Regions from separate parts of the Homo sapiens genome. Here region 1 is linked to region 2. The links are contacts of gene promoters, found by promoter capture Hi-C in human tissues and cell types (Jung and others, 2019). All regions are on one chromosome and are shown on one strand. The core of a region is centred on a gene start or on the middle of the fragment in contact, and the rest is flanking DNA. Distances in the headings are between cores, read along the strand shown.

Evidence for each region. Contacts are between HindIII fragments. The study calls those that stand out against the background at their distance.
Region 1: a fragment that was not itself captured here is called in contact with the fragment with the promoter of ASAH2B in region 2 in 1 of the 25 tissues and cell types used here (mesenchymal stem cells).

What each region holds. Positions count from the first base shown.
Region 1 is chr10:50,602,595-50,607,514 of GRCh38, reverse strand. All of the region lies in intron 1 of SGMS1 (sphingomyelin synthase 1), which reads left to right. Among named protein-coding and RNA genes, the nearest start is that of SGMS1, 19 kb to the left of the region's middle. The HindIII fragment of the contact is 7,249 bases long and covers 1-4,920 here.
Region 2 is chr10:50,738,163-50,743,107 of GRCh38, reverse strand. It overlaps ASAH2B (N-acylsphingosine amidohydrolase 2B), which reads right to left and starts at 3,172. Exons shown (of 6, transcript NM_001321958.2): 1 at 3,125-3,172; 2 at 98-193. The HindIII fragment of the contact is 7,213 bases long and covers 115-4,945 here.

The DNA of each region.
Region 1 (4,920 bases), core at 1,772-4,271, 140 kb after region 2:
ATCTTAGCTTTCACTGCCTGCACACTAATTTCAATATCTTCCCTGGAGAAGAATGACAGAAGAATCTTTGCAGAGGTAATATGTGACAAATGTTTGCCCTCTCAAGGTACCCTCAGTTTTCAACAATTGACTGCTTTCCCTGCAAGCAACCATTGACTGTTAGTAAGCATGCTCTTTAATATTGTTAGTAGACTTGCCATGTCAATGCTGTTATACACAAAGTACAATGCTAGGCCAGGTACAGTGGCTCATACATGTAATCCTAGCACTTTGGGAGGCCGAGGTGGGTGGATCGTTTGAGCCCAGGAGTTTGAGACCAGCCTTGACAAGATAGCAGAACCATATCTCTACCAAAAAAAAAAAAAAAAATTACCTGGGTGTGGTGGTGTGCATCTGTAGTCCCAGCTACTTGGGAGGCTGAGGTGGGAGGATCACCTAAGCCCAAGAAGTTGAGACTGCAGCGAGCTGTGATTATGGCACTGCACTTCAGCCTGGGTGATGGAGTGAGACCTTGTTTCAAAAAAAAAAAAAAAAAGTACAATGCTAGAGCTGAGCTTTGTTATATAATAACCAGACATTCCATCTTTGAACATCTTTGGTAAGTACGTGACAAAATCTTGAGTGTCATATAGTTTGCTGATGGATGCAGGAGATTCTAGGATACATCTGGAATGTTCACCGACATTTGAAAATGAGTCTTTGGATACTAACAGCAGATATTCAAATATAATGCCTTGTTCATATCACTGACGTCATGCTGTTGTGATGTTTACTTACACGGTGATGCAATCATTGATCATACATCAGTTCAAGGATGCCAGAAGTGACATTTGAAGAATGCATCCTGCTCTTTAGCTTTCCAGACTGAGACTGAAGGTCAGATTTTCGCCAAGTGTGGAAGCTGAAGACAACTTTGGTAGATTCTTAAATATGCATAGAAATATATGTTGTATTTTTATAGTTTTAAAATATTTCTACTATTCCAAATCTATACTTTAAACAAGTACAAACATCTTTTTTGATTATAGTAAAATACACATACACAAAATGTACCATTTTAACAATTTTTAAGTATACAGTTCAGTGGCATTAAGTACCTTCAAATTGTTGTGCAACCATCTCCACCATCCATCTCCAGAATGACTTCCTCATCCCAAGCTGAAACTCTATGCCCATGAAACAATCATTCCCATTGTTTCTTACCCCTAGCCCCTGGAAAACCACTGTTCTACTTTCTGTATATGCGAATTTGACTATGTACCTCATATAAGTGGAACTATTTAGTATTTGGCTTGATTTACTTAGCATAATGTTTTCAGAGTTCACGCATATTGTAGCATGTGTCAGAATTTCCTTCCTTTTTAATATTCCATGGTATGGATATACCACATTTTGTTTATCCATTCATCTGTCATTGGACACTTGGGTTACTTCTATCTTTTGCTGTTGTGGTTAGTGCTGCTGTGAACACAGGTGTACAAATATTTGTTCAAGACAAACATCTTTCAAGAGACTCTTTTTAAAAGAAAATAAGGTGTCTCTTAAAATATGTTCCTTGTCATGAATGTAGAGAGTGGAACAATAGATAATGGAGACTCAGAAGGGTGAAGGGGTTGAAGTGGGGAGGATGAGGAGAAATTGGTTAATGAGTATGATGTATATTATTTGAGGGATGGATACCCTAAAAGCCCTGACCTGACCACTATGCAATCTATGCATGTAACAAAATTGCAGATGTACCCCATACATTTGTATAAATAAAAAGGAAAATAAAAATATGTGCCTTCTTGTGATCAGTTTTATTAGAGGGTGCCTTATCACTGTGTGGTCAAGGAAATTCTGCCTTTACAGTTATAAACACACCCACCACTTTGAACAGTGTTTAGTTGAAGGTATTAGTACTGCCTGAGGTCAAGAGTGTGGTTTCACAATACTTCAGAGCAGTCTCACCAGCAAACTTGGCAGCAACCTTGAGCAAGTCCTGTCAGGGTTGTTGGAAAACAGCCGGTGTTTTCATATCTTTTGCTCTGATAGCTCTTACTTGTCAGTACCTTAGGAGGGAAAATCTGGCAGTAGTGTTTGGTTCCTTAGTTCACTCTGAGCTGGTTAAATGCTCACTGGATATGCAGATATGATTTATTTCAGTGGTATGCTTCTCTGTGAGCCTGTCTCACTGTGGCAGCTCTGGAATTTCTGTTTATGGATGACATTCTGTTTGGAAGTGGGGCTGAGGTTCTGAGCTACAGGCTGTGTTTGCACAGCAAGCTCCCTTGATTTTAATTTGTATTTTTTCCCAAATCTGGGTGGTAGGGGAGGCCCAATGGAGAATATAGAGCAGTATGCTCCCCACTGACTCCATGCAGTGGTCCGGGGTTTTGTGGTGCCTGGGCATCTTGCAGTGACATGTCTGTAGGTGCTTTTTTGTGGAGATGTAGGAAATTGAAATTAGCTTCCAGCTTTGTAGTAACAGAAGTGAAATGTTTTGTACCGTTATAGGCCTGATAAAAATCAAATGTGACTAACTGGTGGTTTTAAACAATGCCAGTCAAATCTGTTTGTTTACATTGCTCACATTTTCTAAAGGCACATGATCTATCTGAAGATGGAGGCTTATCGGTGAGTTTACTGACAGCATTGTGTATTGTGTTATATTTATATTTCTTGTATGATCTTTTTAGTCATTTTTTTGGAGTCTGTCTTGGTCTTTTTACTGATGGGTGTATGTGTAGATTTATAGGGATAAATAATCTTTCTTCTTTTTTGTGGAGTTGATCAATCGAGGACTTTTTAAGTCCTTGATTTAAATAGGTGACCTCTGGAACAAAGTAAACACACATGTTTAATACTTAGTCATATAATTTATACATTTGGCAATCAGTCAAATACTCCATTCCAAAGAATAACCTTGAAACTGTTTGAATAAATTTTTTATTTCAGCATGCAAGATGTAATCAAAGAAATGTGTCTCTGGGAAAAAAGATAATTGCGGTTCTTTTGTGCCGTTAAAATTTCAAGTGCAGTGAGCTAACCTGGCACTGTATCAGACGTCTAGGCAAATAATTGCCTGTTTGCTGTTGGAGTCTGTTATATGTTGTGCATTTTTGGTGGCTCTCTACAGTTCTGGTTCTCTTATCTTCCTAATAGTTCTTCTTTAGACACCGTCCCTGGAACCTCTGCTTGGGTTGCACATGTAAATTTCACCGACGGTTCAGCCCTGGTGGTGAGCAGCCTGTTACGTGCAGGCTCATGTGGGGGACCAGTTTGCTTTCTTTTGGGTGGGGTGTCAGGTTTATGAGGGTCCAGCTGGTGGAGGGCTCTGATTATGTGGTTTTGACTCAGCAGTTTCCTTACTGTCTGAGAGCTGTCATCAGAGCTTAGACTGTGCAGGAGGAAGTGATAGAAAAGCAAAGTGTACAGTGCCGTTTTTGCACTGAGGCCCCTATTTTAGGAATAAACTCTAGGGGTCAGAAATGTTGACGTTTAGATTAAATCTGACTTTTCTCATTTTCTGATCTATATTTTGTTTCCAGAATGGTTAATGTAACTCCTACTAGAATAAACAATGGCATGTATTTCAAGTTTAATGTTATTCTACATTTTTGAAAATTTAGTAAATAATAAAATCTTAACCTGTTTATGTATGCTCTAGCTTGTCCTGCCCCTCTGTCTACATGTGGAAGATAAATTTTGTACACTCTTCACAGTCACAAGTGTTTAAAGATACATAACATTAGAAAGTGATTTTACCAATTCTTTTTCTTTTCACAGGTTTGTTGCTGACTACAACATTAAGGTCCCTTCAGAGGTTAAGGCTGTTCAATTTAAAACAATCATGCAGTGTTTCTTTGATGACTGCAGTGTGTTGTGCAATTTAGTTTTTTACCCCTCAATTTTTTTGTTGCCTTGAGTTACCATTTGGAGGTACGGTTTTTGATACTGTATCTCAAGACTGTGATTTCTTGGATTTTGTGTGTGTGTGTTTTTTAAATTTACTGAATTTACTACTAGAGACTGCTTTCTCTGTGTAAGATCCACTCCTTTGTGGGAGCCCAGAAGTTTACGATAAGTAAGAGAAGGAGTATCAGATAGTGAGAGGTGTGCATCATGGTTAAATGAAAACAAAACCAAGGTGTTTGACTCTCGGCAGAGAGAGATTTGGAAGCTAGCTCTGTTACCCACGGTTCAGCCCTGGTGGTGCGCAGCCTGGGCTCCGGCCTCTCACCAGCAATGGAACCAATGGATGTTGAGGAAATTACTTAAGTTGTTTGAATCTTAACTTCCTCATCTGTAAAAAGCTCATCCTACAGGTTTATTAGGGGATCATGTTTGTAAGACCCCAGCACACTGTAGATGTAGAATAAAATGGTAGTGGTTATTATTAGGGCTTCCTCTTCAGAGGCAAAAGGTTTTAGAATGTGGTTATGTTTTTCTGGTATTTTATTTTATCATTTAACATTGCAGAGGATAAGGAGTTGGAAATGAAGACAGCCTAGACTGGCTGAGAACCTCATTGTGTTGCTGAATTGAATTCCATTGTCTAAACTCGTTCATTTTCACCTTTTCTCCTGATTGTTTTGTCTGCTGTGGAGCATGATGTTAAAAACAAAATAGATCACTGTAAAATTTTCTCTATCCTGGCACTTTGGAAATAAGTTAGTCTGACAAAGCAGTTCTTTCCACAGAGAGTAGAGGCTTTATGTTTATTTTCTTCTCATTACAAATTTTTTTATTGTTAAAATATTTTAAATGTTCAGGAACCTACTGAGAATAATACAATAAATGCATATATATCCAGCTTCCAGTTTTATCAAATGTTAACTTTTTGATGTGTTTGCTTTATGTATGTGTGCATATTTATTTATTTAGAAAAATAAACATCACATTTTCAGTGTAAGTTCAGGGACCTTGCTGTCTCAGTCA
Region 2 (4,945 bases), core at 1,923-4,422:
GGTTCTCTTTCACTTCCCTCTTACCCAGACACAGACACATACAGACATACACACACACACACACGCACGCACGCACGCACAAACAATATTTGATTACCGTAGCAATAGCCTTAGCAAGGTTTCTGAAGAGCTGAATGTAAGCAGATAATGCGTGCGGTCCATAAATTGTCGATGCTGCCTCATATCGCTGAGCCTGCAGGAAAGGCAGGGAGAGTTGTATATGGTTCTGCATATTTAAATCCATTTACAGAGGTGTAGCATTTTAGGTAAGTGTGATGCTTGACATCTCACATTATTCAAAACTGGCACAATCTTCAAGATTATGTATGACAAAAGAGGATGGGCATTTCCATTTACTGGCCAAGGTAAGTGACTCCTATGGACTACCTGTTAAAAGCAGTGGGTTCTCTCTGCTTATGCCATTTAGACTGTCACTCTATTTACTATGAAAGACGGTGCTAGCTCCTAAGCTTTAGTCTATTATAAGTACTTGTAATATAAGTGCTTTCCCCCAGGGCATATATCAGAAGAAAAATAAAACAAAATAAAGAGTCCTAGTAACTTCTGGATAAATAGTTAGAAGGTGCTAACTGGAGAAAGACATTTAATCCATCACAAAGCCATGAAATTGAGCCAAATGCATCTTTTAGCTGACCTCCAGGCCTTTGGTTCTTCTACAGGAACTTCAAAGTTATCAAATCTAAAACCAACCTCACCACTTCAGACATACCAGCTTCCTCCACAACATTCTCATCTCAGCGAATGTCATCTTTCCAGTCTCCCATGTGAGGATCAGCCGGCAGTTACCTTAGACTCCTCTCTCCCTCATCCTGTATCCTATCAGTCTCCACATCTGGTAATTCTGTCTCCTTCAAATCTCCTGAGATCTTTCATTTTCCTGTCTTACTTTCTCCTAAGGTACAAATAGATTTCACCTTAGTTCAAACCCTCATTTCTCACCCAGATCTCTTTTTTTTTATATTTGTATTAAGTTCAGAGGTACATGTGCAGGTTTGTTATATAGGTAAATCACATGTCATGAGGGTTGGTTATACAGATTATTTCATCATCCAGGTAATAAGCACAGTACCTGATAAGTAGTTTTTTGATCCTCTCCCTCCTCCCAGCCTTCACCCTCAAGTGTGCATGTCCATGTCTTGCCCAGATCTTAATTACACTATGGCTTCTTAATCAGTCCTCTGCCTATACACAAGCCCTTCCAATTCATTTTCTACACTGCCATCTATTGACCTTTCTAAATCACAAAATTTTATCAAAGCATTCTCTTGCTTAGAATCCTACTGCAGTTCCCCCAAAGCCTTCCTTACTGAGTGAAGGCTCAGTAGCATAGCATGCAAGACTATCCATCAGCTAACCTGTGTCTCCCACTCTGGCTACCATCTCCTTACCATCACCCTCCGCATACTTACTCCATGCTACTCAACTAATTGTGGTCCATCAATGTGCCTGCCCTCTGGACCTTTGCATATATCGTTTCTTCTATATAGGATACATTCTTACTTTTTATTTGCTTAACTCTCACTTGTTGTCAAGAACTCATACAGATGTTACATCTTCCTGAACAGTCCCAGTACTCAAATACCCAGTCTGGGCTGGTGCTCTTTCTCTTTATTTTTATAACACCTTGTGCATGCCTTTCATGAAAATGTAATCATCTGTTCTCTTTTCTGTCTTCCTACTAGACCCCCGGCTTCCAGTGATCTTGAGGGAAGGGACAGATTCTTTTCATCATTATGCCCCAGAAAGTGGCTAGCACAGTATCTGTCACAATACATCTGTTGAATGAATGAAGTAATTAATAGCAATACTTGCCGGAGTATATCCCTGTGATATGGACAGGAGACAGGAAAATACTGGGTAGAAGAGAGTGGTTCCCTGGCAAAGGCCCCACCCTTAAGCCTGGAAACCTGTGGCCCTAAACAAATGTTCTTAAAGAAACTGAAAAAATGAATTTTTAATTAATTTCATTCTAACTCTAAACAGTCACATGTCGCTACCATACTGGACAGCTCAGACCTAGGTATCAACTGGACTAATGAAGTGGTTTCCTAACTTAAACTTAAATTGTAATAAAAAATTTAAAACGTTTTTATGAACTTCCAATAGGATCGCAGTATTACTTTTAGTACCTGTCACCTCTGTAAAACTCCTGAATTATAACTCATCTACACACATTTGAAAAACAGCAGTATCTGTATGTGTGAGATATGACTGGTTCTAAATGATGCCTGGAGACCCCATGGACTTACAGAGACCCTTCCAGTGATTTCTGAGGTACCTGGGAATCTGTGGCCAATAAATTGGTAATCACTGAATTAGTGAGTTTTTTAAGAATATCAGGCTGCATAAAATCTGACAGCTTGATTGAAAAAAAGCGGGAAAGGGTGCCATTTCATTCAATTAAGGTCCTGTATTAATTCCGTTTAATAAATGTTTGGTCTATCTATGATGTGCTAGCCACTGTGCCAGTGAATGGATATAGCTATGATCTGACTTGCAGAGGAAATCCAAACTAGTACCTTCCGTGCAATAAGGGATACACTGCAAGGCTGCACAGGGTGCTACTGGAGCACAGAAGTGAGTCAGAGGCTTCCCACAGACACACAACACGAGCGGAAACAGAAAGTCTTTATATATCACCATAACGTCAAGGAACACCGGCTGGGAGTTAGGAGAGCTGGGCACTAGGAACGCTTTGAAACTGAATAGCTGTGGGATTTCCGAGGTTATGTTGCTTCTCTACTATATTTTAGTTCCGAAGCTGTACTAATGTTTCTCTTTCTTTTGCTCTTGGTGGGAAAAGCACAATTTGGGGTCAACAGATTCGGCTCAGGTCCGAGTCGCCTGCTGGGACCACGTCGCCAGGAAACGACGTCTCCCGGACACCTTCCCTCCCCGTCAGGCTCTCTGCAGGGATTCACCCCGTTCCCTCTCCCAACGACTCCCGGGCACGCCTCCGTTAAAGGTGAAATATGCTGCTCCTGGGGAGCAAAGATAACCCGGAGGACCAGGGAAGGACCTTCCCACGCGCACGACTCGCGATCTTCCCAGTGCCCCAGAGCCAGGGACCCCACTGCCGCCTACCCCAGCCGCAGCACCGAACCTGTTCACAATTGCGACTCCTCAGGTCCGCTTCCACACCGCCGGAAACGGAAATTCACCGTCGCGCCGACTCGCGGGGAGGGAAACAAAAAGGCAGAAAAAAGAGACCGGCGCCTGGACGACTTCCAGGGGAGAGCTGGAAGACTAGTCAACAGCTGTGTGCGGGCGCCGGCGCCGTCTGCGCAGTGCGTTCCACCGGGTCCGCATCCCTCCCGATTCCGCCCCACCCTGCCCTCGGAATCCGCTGCCTCAACTCCCGCGGTGGGACTCCGGAGCAGCGTACACCGCCCTCGCCTTAGTCCTCCGCGAAGGCCAGGGCAGCTGTGCGGCCTGCCGCGGATTAGTTGGTGCGGTGCAAAAGCCAGAAGGAGACACATTTGGTCCTGGCCACCCCGGAGTCACCGTGCCCGGGACAAATGGACTATGGCTCGACTGGGAGTCGACTTCCTTCTCTTTAAAGATGACAGATGAGGGAGATCTCAGGTTCTGGGGGTGCCCTAAAGCCCTCTTTTGGCAGGAAGCGGTGGCTCATGCCTGTAATCCCAGCCCTTTGGGAGGCTGAGGCGGGAGGATCGCTTGAGCCCAGGAGTTCAAGACCAGCCTGGGCAACTTAGGGAGATACCCCCGCCCACCGTCTCGCAGGAAAAAAAAGAAAGGAAGAAAATTAGCCAGGCACGGTGGCTCACGCCTGTAATCCCAGTATTTTGGGAGTCCAAGGCAGGAGGATTGCTTGAGCCCAGCAGTTCAAGACCAGCCTGGGCAACACAGGGAGGCTACCTCTCTCTCAATCAATCAATCAATCAATCAATGCCAGCGTCGTGGCGGGCGCCTGTGGTCCCTGTGGTCCCAGCTACTCTGGAGGCTGAGGCGGAACGATCGCTTGAGCCTTGGAGGCGGAGGTTGCAGTGAGCTGAGATCGAGCCACTGCACTCCAGCCTGGGCGACAGAGCAAGACACTGTCTCAAAGAAAAATAAATAAATAAAATAAGGCCCTCTTTTTCCAGGACCAACAGACTCTGATGGCAGGGACAAACTGACCCAGCCTAAACTGCCTCGCCTTCCCTGCTCCCGGGAAAGGGGCTTTCCCTGAGGGAAGGTAGCATCTTGCCATTTTCTTCCTGCACAGCTTTGCCTTCCCAGGGATCGGCCCATTGCCACCTGAGGAAATGCCTTGGAGTCCATCTAACCCACAGCCCAGGTACTTGGGACGCCTACAGAGCCTACATTGTCAGAGGATGCATCTTCTTCTAGTCTTGGAGGGGTTCCTTTCAATAAGATCCCACCAGTGCACTCAAGGCTCAATTCTACACCAAAAAACTAGGCCCACTCCTGTCACCGAGACCCCCAGGCTTCAGGTCCTGTCACAGTGACCTTGTTTTCGCCCCCAGCAGCCCCCAGGTATTCACTCTGCATAGGCTATATACTGGGTGCTAAACAAGAGAGGCTACCCACGTGGTGCATGCTTCCCTTATCTGTGAAGAGCTTAGGATGTTGTAACTTCTTCACACTATGCCTCTTACTTCATGGAGATGTCAGTATCCGGGTAGATAATCCTTCCAACATCCTTTTGATCTCATGAAGCCCACTCCTGTCCTCTGCCCTACCTCAGCTTCCCCCTCCCTCCATGATCAGACCTTAGACCTTGTCAGGTCCAAGGACTGCAAACCCCACAGTAGCCCACTCTGACCACCACCTCCTAGCTATCCAGGTTACTCCCTATACTGCCCTGAAACAAAATTCTTGCAACCTTACCAGTACCTCCAATCCAGATCTTACTACCTTTTCACTGTTTCTTCCTTCCTTTATGACTTTTCCCTCTCTA